Regions from separate parts of the Homo sapiens genome. Here region 1 is linked to region 2. The links are contacts of gene promoters, found by promoter capture Hi-C in human tissues and cell types (Jung and others, 2019). All regions are on one chromosome and are shown on one strand. Each heading gives the region's core, a stretch centred on a gene start or on the middle of the fragment in contact. The rest is flanking DNA. Distances are from core to core; before and after follow the strand shown.

Evidence for each region. The method cuts DNA at HindIII sites, captures the fragments that hold promoters and counts their contacts. A contact is called where the count stands out against the background at its distance.
Region 1: a contact is called between a fragment that was not itself captured here and the fragment with the promoter of MC3R in region 2, in 2 of the 25 tissues and cell types used here (H1 embryonic stem cells and dorsolateral prefrontal cortex).

Annotation. Positions count from the first base shown.
Region 1 is chr20:56,324,098-56,329,359 of GRCh38, reverse strand. No RefSeq gene overlaps it. Among named protein-coding and RNA genes, the nearest start is that of FAM210B, 32 kb to the left of the region's middle. The HindIII fragment of the contact is 4,501 bases long and covers 1-3,894 here.
Region 2 is chr20:56,245,381-56,250,533 of GRCh38, reverse strand. MC3R (melanocortin 3 receptor) reads right to left here and starts at 1,802. Exons shown (of 1, transcript NM_019888.3): 1 at 719-1,802. The coding sequence starts at 1,690. The coding sequence ends at 719. RefSeq lists a silencer at 2,332-2,401. The HindIII fragment of the contact is 18,891 bases long and covers 1-5,153 here.

The DNA of each region.
Region 1 (5,262 bases), core at 395-2,894, 79 kb before region 2:
CTGGTATTACAGTCACATGCCATCATGCCTGGCTAATTTTTGTATTTTTAGTAGAGATGGGATTTTACAACGTTGGCCAGGCTGGTCTCAAACTCCTGACTTCAAGTGATCTGCCCGCCTCAGCCTACTGAAGTGCTGGGATTACAGGCGTGAGCCGCCATGCCTGGCTGACTTGGCAAATTCTTTCTGTACCTTCAAGACTCCTCTGATGTCTTATTCTGGCATAACATTTGAAGGCAGAGGCTGTGATGCCTCATGCCACATCTCCTCAACCCAGATGATTTCAGCACCTCTGTGACGGACAGTTCCCTGCAAAAGAAGTCATGCACTGGGCGTGTTGGCTTTAGTCTTCCAGGGAATGCAAATAAAAACCAAACCCACTTTATACCCACTAGAGTGTTTATAATATAAAAGATGAACAATGACAAGTGTTGGCAAGGATATGGAGAAATGGAAGCCCTCATGCCTTGCTGGTGGGAATATAAAATGGTGCAGTCATTTTGAAAAACAGTTTGGGATTTCTTCAAAAAGTTATAGACGTAGAGTTATCATATGATCCAGAAGTTCCACACCTAGATATATGCCCAAAAGAACTGAAGAAATATGTCCACATAACAACCTGTACACAAATTTTCCTAGTAGCATTTTTCATAATAGTAAAAAAGTGGAAAAAATCCCTACATGTCTAGCAATTAGTGAATGGATTAAAAATGTGCTATATCCATACAATTGTTTAGCCAAAAAAGGACTAAAGTATGGACACACATTACAAGACAGGTAAACACTGAAAATATTATGGCAAGTGAAAATGACCAGACATAAAAGGCTAAATAGTTCATGATTCTATTTACATACAAAGTTTAGAATAAGCAACTCCATTAAAGACTGAAAGTAGATTAATGGTTCACAGGAGTTGGGGGAAAAGGAACATAGAGACTCACCACGAATGAGCATGAGGTTGTTTTTTCTTTTCTTCTTTCTTCCTTCCTTCCTTCCTTCCTTCCTTCCTTCCTTCCTTCCTTCCTTCCTTCCTTCCTTCCTTTCTTTCTCTTTCTTTCTTTCTTTCTTTCTTTCTTTCTTTCTTTCTTTCTTTCTTTCTTTCTTTCTTTCTTTCTTTCTTTCTCTCTCTCTCTCTCTCTCTTTCTCTTCCTTTCTTCCTTTCTGACAGAGTCTCACTGTCACCTAGGCTGGAGTGCAGTGGCACGATCTTGGCTCACTGAAACCTCCACCTCCCGGGTTCAAGCGATTCTCCCACCTCAGCCTCATGAGTAGCTGGGACTACAGGTCCACACCCCCACGCCTGGCTAATTTTTGTGTCTTTAGCAGAGACAGGGCTTTACCAAGTTGGCTAGGCTGGTATTGATCTCCTGACCTCAAGTGATCCACCTGCCTCAGCCTCCCAAAGTGCTGGGACTACAGGCATAAGCCACCGCCCCCAGCCATGAGGTTTCTTTTTGTTGTGAGGAGAATGTTCTAGAGTTAGATAGTGCTGATGGTTGCACAACTTAGTGAATATTCTAAAAACCAATGAATCGTACATGTTAAAAGGGTGAATTCGATGCTAAATGAATTATATTTAATAAAAAAAGTACTCTTTCTTACCTTTTTTACTTTGACCCTTGCTTTTCAGCATGCTTCACTTTCCTGAATTGCTGAGGCTCTTATTCACATGAGTTTTCCAAAGGAGCTGGGCATGCCCCAGTGTTGGAGTGGGCACACCTGCAATACCTTCAACTACTCTGATCTCTTAGCTTCTTTCTGCAGAGAACAGCCTTTGTCCCAGGTGCAGCTAAGATCTAAGACACAGAGATGTGTTGTACCTGGAAGGAGGAGAGGTGCCTGGCATCATTGTAAAGGAAGTACCTATTTCACTTTGTTCCCACACCCTAAATGATACCTGGGGCTCCTGGGCCAAACAATAGAATTTTTCTCTGCAAAACCTTGGAGGGAGAAATGAAGCTTGTACGCAGTCCACTATGACTCTGGGCAATTAGGAGCAGGAAAATGATGTAAAACTCAAAATATGGACATTGCAAAATTGAAACCTCAGATAATGAGGGTACAATTGCTATATGCTGTAGTGGTGAGTTCAGGCTTTGAGACCATGGAGACTTATGTTCAGGTTCTAGCTTTCCTATGTGATTTCACTTAGCCTCAGTTCTGTTGTTAGGAAAAATGCTACTTACCTTGGGAGATCTAGGAGGATTAGAGACAATGTATAGAGCATGCATATCACAAAGCTGGCCCTCAATTAATAGTAGTCATGCTTAATATAAAATATGAAGTTACAATGACCTCATGGATCTGATCTATTAAACCTTGGACTGGAATTAATTTGGAATTTGGTAGAAAGCAAAACAAGAAAATTTCATGGTCTAAAGAACCATTTAATGAAAGGGAACTCCCTAACCTGTGATACTGTGAGGCCGGGGAAACTCAGTGCAGGGTAAATAGGCTTTTTGCAGAAAAACATGAAAACCCTCTTAACATTTAAATGGTACAAAGCAATACATTTTGTCTCTCAGACAACCAACAAGCTAGATTCCACTTCTATGTAGAAAAAAATGTGAATGTTCTTCAGGGAAGGCTTGACCTTAATGCACTGGCATATCAAGGACCACATTTTTTACCCCCAAATCCAAACCAAGCACTTTGAAATGCAGATAGATTAAAAAACCCGAGTTTAGTAACCACAGTTCAAAAACCATTGCTAAACATGTACCTTATGCTGGACAGTGCCGTGAGGCTGAGCACAAAGCCTGTGGGTAGCCTGAGTGCCCCTTCAAACATGACTCAGGTGTGCCGGTGATAAACCTTGACTTTGTTCTGATTCCACTTAATTTCTAGTTTAAGACCCATTGGTACCAATGTGGTAGAACATTGATCTCTTCTGATGTTGTGTCTGTGTTTCTGGGGGCTTACACAGCACTGAGCAATTAAACTTTGCAGCTATCTGGCTCTTGATGCCATTGTTCATTTGGGTGCCCTCTGAGACTCCCATTGCCCTTGTTCTGGTCTCCAGGCACTGATGCACACAGGTCACTGTTGTGCTATTCCTCACATCTGGCTGCCAGGCTTCTTGAAATCTCTTCTAACCTCAATGCCACCCTTGAAGGTTTGGTGCTCAATATGGTGTTTATGTGTCACTTTGGGGTACCAAAATGGCTGCACTTCCAGATACCCCATATGCCCAGATGGCCCAGGAACCAGTCCTTCCCTGCTCTCTGAGGCTGTTCAGATATGAGCGCCAGGCACCTGCCCCTAACATTTGTGTGGCCATTTGAGTAAGACATTTGTCTAGAGTATAAATGGAGATCCACATTCTGTACATCTACGTGTTTAATGGTCATGCATCAATCTGACAGAGTGCTAAATAGCACCATCTGGGCCTTCTACTTTCACGAATACACCTCCATAATGACCTAGTACGTAAAGTTTAAATTTAGAGTTCTTGGACTCCTCAGAGTTTCACCTCAGACCTTGGCAGTGTGAGGAGGGCTGGCCCCTACTCTTGGCTCACCCCGTTTATCTTTTTTTTTTTTTTTTTTGAGACGGAGTCTCGCTCTGTCGCCCAGGCTGGAGTGCAGTGGTGCGATCTTGGCTCACTGCAAGTTCTGCCTCCTGGGTTCGCGCCATTCTCCTGCCTCAGCCTCCCGAGTAGTTGGGACTACAGGTGCCTGCCACCACGCCCGGATTTTTTTTGTATTTTTAGTAGAGACAGGGTTTCACTGTGTTAGCCAGGATGGTCTAGATCTCCAGACCTCGTGATCTGCCTGCCTCGGCCTCCCAAAGTGCTGGGATTACAGGCGTGAGCCATTGCACCTGGCCACACCCTGTTTATCTTCCTGCTCTGTTCTGCATCATGGGCAAGCTTGGACATGCACGTGTAAATACCTGGATCAGCAGGTACAGCCAAGCTTCATCCATACCCCATAAAAATAGCCACCCCTTTGTCACCTTACACATTAGCATGTATCAAACCCAGGAAAGAGACCCAGTCAGTCTTTGGAAGTTGGTGTGGGTCATTTGGCAGGCAATTCTGGACCCAAGTAACTAGAGGGGATTCTTGAAGAGGGCTCTGGGCCCTGGGTGGGTACATCCTTTTTGTTGCATGGACACCTCTAGTGGAAAGGGGAATATGGGGAGGGTGGAGGAAGATGAGAGCCAGGCTTTCTAAAGCACTGGGATTGTGGCAGAGGTTCCTTTTGCCCAAGTCTTCCCTAAATGGAGGACACACAGCCACCAGCCTTAATTTTTAGTTGCCACAACTTGGGAGTTGGATGCTACTGAACATCCTATAATGCACAAGACAGCTCCCACAAAAGAGAAATATCTGGGCCAAAATGTTGATTGTGCAATAGTTCCAAGGTTGGGAACAGGTTCCCTGTCTTAGGCAAATTATAGAGATGACTATCTTGCAAATGCACATGACTGCAAATACCTTTGTGATCTGTAATTTTCACACACACAGCCAGGTACACATCTAAACAGTTTTTTCACAGAACTTTGGAATTGGAGGTGAAGTCATCACCTAGTGATGTGGTTATAAAGAGGGCCTTCAATGTGTTGAGAATCCCTCCACTGCCCCCACATACCTACCACTTGCTTCCCTGGGTCCTTTCATCTTGCTGCAAAATTATAGCGACAATTTAGGGAAGGGTCAAGCCCATTCCTTAGCCATTCCTTGGAAGACCCACTGAAAAGGGCTTAACTGAGAAGAATGAATGAAGGACCTATGCACAGTGCTATGGGCTGGGTTGAGGGAACCAATATAGGATGTCCCTCCCAGGGACTCTTTATAGGAAACTTTCAAAATGCTTCACTCGGGGGTGGAGGAAGAAATGGAGAACCGTCTCCACGAGCAGGGCCTGCTTGGCAGATACTGTATCTGTGGGGGGTGTGGCCACTGTCAGGTCAGAGCCTAGGAAGGTGGGAAAGGGGAGTGATGGAATGAACGGTGTCCCCTCAGATTTATATGTTGAAGTCCTAGCCCTCTGTCCTTCAGAATGTGACTGTATTTAGAGATAGGGTCTTTAACAAAGTGACAGAATTAAAAGAAGGCTGTTAGGGTGGACTCTAATCCAATTTGCCTAGCATCCTTATAAGAAGCGAAAGAGGCACCGTAGACAGAGGATGACCCTGTGAAGGGGCAGCAAGAGACATCCACCTGCAAGCCAAGGGGAGGGGTCTCAGAGGAAACAAACCATGCCAGCAACTTAATACTGAACTTCCAGCCTCTTGAATCATGAGAAAATACACTTC
Region 2 (5,153 bases), core at 553-3,052:
TCGTTAGAGTTTTGAAGGTTGTCTTAGATTTAATCCATAAAAACAAAACAACAACACACACCAACACAACAACAGAAAAATAGAAGTGGGTTACATCCTCATGCTACCTTTGGGGGTGGGGACAACTGAAGGGATATGGGGGTAAGAAAAGGGGAAAACGGCATAGCATTGCTCCTTTCACAAAGAGACAATTGTCTAACTGTAAATAGAATAATAGAGTAGAACTCAGTCTCCTACGGAGTTATAAGTGCAAAGCTATCTCTCCGTGTAGCTGGCAGCAGGAGGTCGTAGCTGTAACAGGTTTGCTTGCAAGAGATCTGAACCACCCTTATTGTTCATGAGAATCCTTCAGTCTGGTCTGGCCTGGAGCATGAAGACGTGGGTGTGGAGCAGATGAGCAGACAGGCGTCGCACACCCTGGGTGTTTGGAAATGAGTGCAGAGAGCATGCAGAGAAGCCTTCGCTGATTTCTCCCAGTGACTATTTGGGAAATCAGAGTTTGTGACTTACCCATCTTGGAATCCTTTCAGAGAATCTGTTGTTCACCAATTTTCCCCTTTAAAAGGCTTTGTAAACTTAAAAACAAACGACAAGTACAATCATGGCTGTTAACACATTTTTATATTTTCTAAGTATATATATTTTTCTTTCTAAACACCTCACGTGGATGGAAAGTCAAAAGTGACCCGACTGATGATCATTTCCATGGCCCTGCATCCTATCCCAAGTTCATGCCGTTGCAGCCACAGAGAATCTCCCTAAAGGTGTTGCGCAATTCCAGGCTCCGGAAAGCGTAGATGAGTGGGTCGATGACGGAGTTGCACATGATGAGGACCAGGTAGGTGTTGAAGTGGGCAGTGTAGCAGATGCAGTAGGGGTTGGTGGGGCAGGTGATGATGAGGACCAGGTGGAGGAAGAAGGGGGCCCAGCAGAAGATGAACACGCCCAGGAGAATGGTGATGGTGACTGCCCCCTTCATGCATGAGTGTTGCTGTGGGGCCACCCCGTCGGCAGGTGGCAGTGCTGCTATGCGCTTGACGTGCAGCCGCGCAAAGAGGAACATGTGCACGTAGAGGGTGCCCATGAGGAGCATCATGGCGAAGAACATGGTGATGAGGCACACAATGACCATTTTGCTCTCCGAGTAGACGATGAACACCACGCCACAGACGCCGCAGCAGACCCAGATGGCCACGATCAAGGTGAGGGCCTTCCTCACGGTCATGATGCTGTGGTAGCGGAGCGCGTAAAAGATGGTGACGTACCTGTCGACGGCGATGGCCAGGAGGTTGCAGATGGAGGCCACCAGGGAGATGCAGATCATGGAGTCGAAGATGTTGTCCATGTGCTGGATAAACTGGTCCTCGAAGGTCAGGTAGTCGCTGTGGACGATGGCGATCATGATGGTCTCCAGGGCATTGGACACACTTACCAGCATGTCGGCCACCGCCAGGCTGCAGAGAAAGAAGTACATCGGGGAGTGCAGGTTGCCGTTCCTGACCACGGCCAGGATAACCAGGATGTTTTCCAGCAGACTGACGATGCCCAGAGACAGGAAAACCTCGGGCTTGATGAAGACCTGCTCACAGAAGGCGCTGCTGCTCTGGTTGCTGAAGAAAGGGGCTTGGAGGTGCTCCGAGCCATTAGGCAGTGTTGGCTGAACAGAGGGCAGGCAGCACGAAGCATTCATTGCTGTCAGAAGGGCTGATCCGAGCTGGGGCTCCAGCAGGGTCCGTAGGAAGCTGCTGCTGCTCACAGGAAAGACAAAATCTCCCTCCAGATACGTCTTTTGGATGCTCATTCAATCTGGCCTTAGAGTTTATTCTCCTCTAGAATAAAAGGATGGGGAGGGTAGAGAGACAGATAGTGAGAGAGGGTGGAGGAAGAGACAGAGAGAGAGAGAGACATACACACAGAGAGAAAGAGCGAAGGGGGAAGAGAGAGAGAGAGGGAGAGTAGCTAGTTAGTAGCTAGCATGCAAGTTTGTAGCTTGGAGACATAGGGAGAACTTTGCTGTTCCAGGAGGAGCAGTTTTTATCTTGTTTACATAGAAAAAATACACCATAGGGTCTCTTACCAGCTGTCTTCCTTCTGTCTCCCTCTCACCCCTCTGTTTGTCTCTCCTCACTTCCCCACCTGGGAACAGAAAACCTGCCACCGGCTGCTACAGTTACAGCTCTTTTCATGGCAAGACAGGGGATGTGTTACTTGTCGCTAGAAGTGAAGGGAGAACACTCAGGTTTTTCATATTGGCCAAGGGCAAACAACTCCTACTTAATCTTCAGCGCAGCAGAATGACCACTGAGCATCGGGCACCTCTCTGACTGACAGCAGGTACCTGGCCCTGAGGATTCTGCAGGGAGATTAAGAAGCAGACTAGTGCCCTCTGCAGGCCGCACGGCTGTCTGCTTGCTGGCTTGGCTTAGCCCTTTGTGTTTGTCATGGAAACTGCCACAGGCATCCACTCATCTGTTCATTTGTTTGTTTATTTGTTAGTTCATTCATTTGTTGTTGTTGTTTAGCAAACATTTATTGAGCGCCTACTATGTGTCAGGTCTCTGCTGAGTGCAGGAAATACAGTGGTGAGCAAGACAACAGCCACTATCTCAGGCTTCCCCGAACTCAGAGTCTGGGGTGGAAGAAGAGGAATCAATAAATGCTTGAATCAGGAAAGTCCAGGAAACCAGGGATGCAAAGAGGAAGAGCCCTAACCCGGACTGTCAAAGTTCCTGGAGGAAGGAGCACCTATGCTTTGACTTCAAGGAGGAAGAGGTCATATCCAGTTTGGGGTGGGTGGTGGGGTGGGGGCTGGAGCTGGAGGAGGTAGAAGAGGACTCCAGGCAGAGGGAATCACACGTCTGCAGCCTGGAGGCAGAGAGCACCCTGGCCATAGAAGTCATCACAGATTGTGGATGTGGAGATCCCATTTGACCCGCGGAGTCAGAATCACCCAGGTGTAAGACCTGAACAAGTGTGTTTGCAATTTTTGACAGGTGAGCTGGGGCATAGTCACAGTTGAGCTCCACTGAAAAAGAATCTTGGGCTTTTGAAAGTGCTGAAAGTAGTCTGCTCTGGTCAGAGCATGGAAATAGGAGACACAATCTGAGAAATGAGGCTGCACAGTTTCTTAAAAAGTTGAGAGGTGCCTGAATCCTGAAGGACAGCCTCAGCCAGATGTGAGAATTTGGACAGTACCTTGACAGCAATGGGGACTGTGGAAGAAACATAGGTAGGGCAGGAATGAGATGGGGTCTGCATTTTAGAAATATTCCTGGTTGCAGGGTGGAGAATGAATTAGACAGACTGAGCATGTAGGCCAGGGAGTCCGGGGCAGAGGGTGTTGCAAAGACCCAGGGTGAGATGATGGTGGCCTGGAGCAAGGGAGTGGCCATGGGGACTTGGAAGACTTGGAGGGTGGTCAGAGAGATTCAGAAGGTTGGATAATGCAGCTTCAGAACTGATGGGTTATGGGATCATGGGAGAGGGAGCAGTCAGAAACACCTGTACTTCTTTCTTACATAATGGGGAGGATGGAGATGTTTTAAGCTGGAAAATGTGAAAGGCAGAAGTTAGCAGGTGGCCTACTAATGTAGTGTTGTTCTTGGAAGTATGGTTTAACACTTGGTCCATGTTAGATCTGATTCCCCATGTAGATCATATGAACTCAGAAAACACTGAGTCTTCTCATCCCTACACACACACACACACACACACACACACACACACACGCACATTCTAGGTGAATTAATGATCCATCTCTCCATGTAACTATGTATGTGTGTGTAGGTGTGAGAAATATTAAAAATATGCATATGGAAATAGAAGAAAACTTAGGATCCTTGGGGTGGAAAGATCTTAAGCAAGATGAGCAATCCAAAATTTAGTATGGAAAAACACCCTGAACTAAGTTAAAAGAAAAACAGAATGAAAATATTTGCTATAGGTAAAGTTACTATCTCTTACATACAAAGACTACTTTCACATTAACTAGAAAAAGATAAATTACCCCTAAGAAAATTGGGCAAAGGATATAAATAATAATTTACTGAAGAGAAGATGCAAATGGTTAATAAACATGAAAAGATGTGAAGCCATCTAGGAAGTTGGGGAAATGCCAGTCAAAATGAGATTTTAATATCGTTTTCCCAGCTAGATTGACAAGAGATAAAAAGATGCAAAATTCAGGTAAGAATATCGGGAGGACACTCTCATGCATTTCTAGTGTTTGTGAATAGTTTCACCATTTGGCAGTTCTTACTAAAATAAAAAAAAAGCCTGTTGGTATGAGTTTCTGTCTATGAACTGAGGGGCATGAGAAATACTTTTGTTTATTTGCTTTTTTTAAAAAAATATTTTGTCAAGAGCATGAGTTTAAGTTGCCCTGAATATACATTTCCACTTCTGTTTATTTTCAACAGAACGACTTAATTTCTGATGCCAAGCCACCATTCTTCTAGGTTGGAAAAAAACACATTCTTAATCCTTTTGGGAACTTCTCTTACCCTCAGGGTCACATCCAGTCTGTGGTTTCAAGGGCATGAGTCATACATGTAAAGCTAGACTATAAGGCAGGGACCATTCATTATCTACTAGGTCTTTTCCTGCTCTGTGCTTGGCACGTGCTGAGCACTGACCACCTTTTCCTGCTTTCATTCTCTGGTCGTGTGCATCCTTCAAAGAGAGCAGCTGGGACCTAGTACTTAAAATCTGTGTCCTCAGAGGTATCATCATCACTCATGAGTGTTTATTTGGTCTTCTCCAAACACTACTTCCCACTTTCCTGGGGGAGTTGCACAGATGCAGCATTACGTTTTAACTGAATCTTGCATGAATGAATTGGCTTTATTAATAACAATTGTAGGACATGACAGTCTCTGTCAGTGTTTACCGTATGTTGTTGGCATATGTGGGGGTGTCTGTTTTGAATCAGTTATAATAAATGTAACAAGGAGATTCTTATTCTAGGAGATAATGAACCCAGGTGGTCTCTTTGCCTGAAAAGCTCTTCCTCAATTTTGTGACTGGTATACCCTCCTTATTCTTCAAGATCCAGCTTAAATGTCAACTATTTTTTACAGCTTTTCTTAAATTTCATACACTAATTTACCACCCTTTCTCCTTGCTGACAAGCTGACAGGGTTCAGTACTCCTTC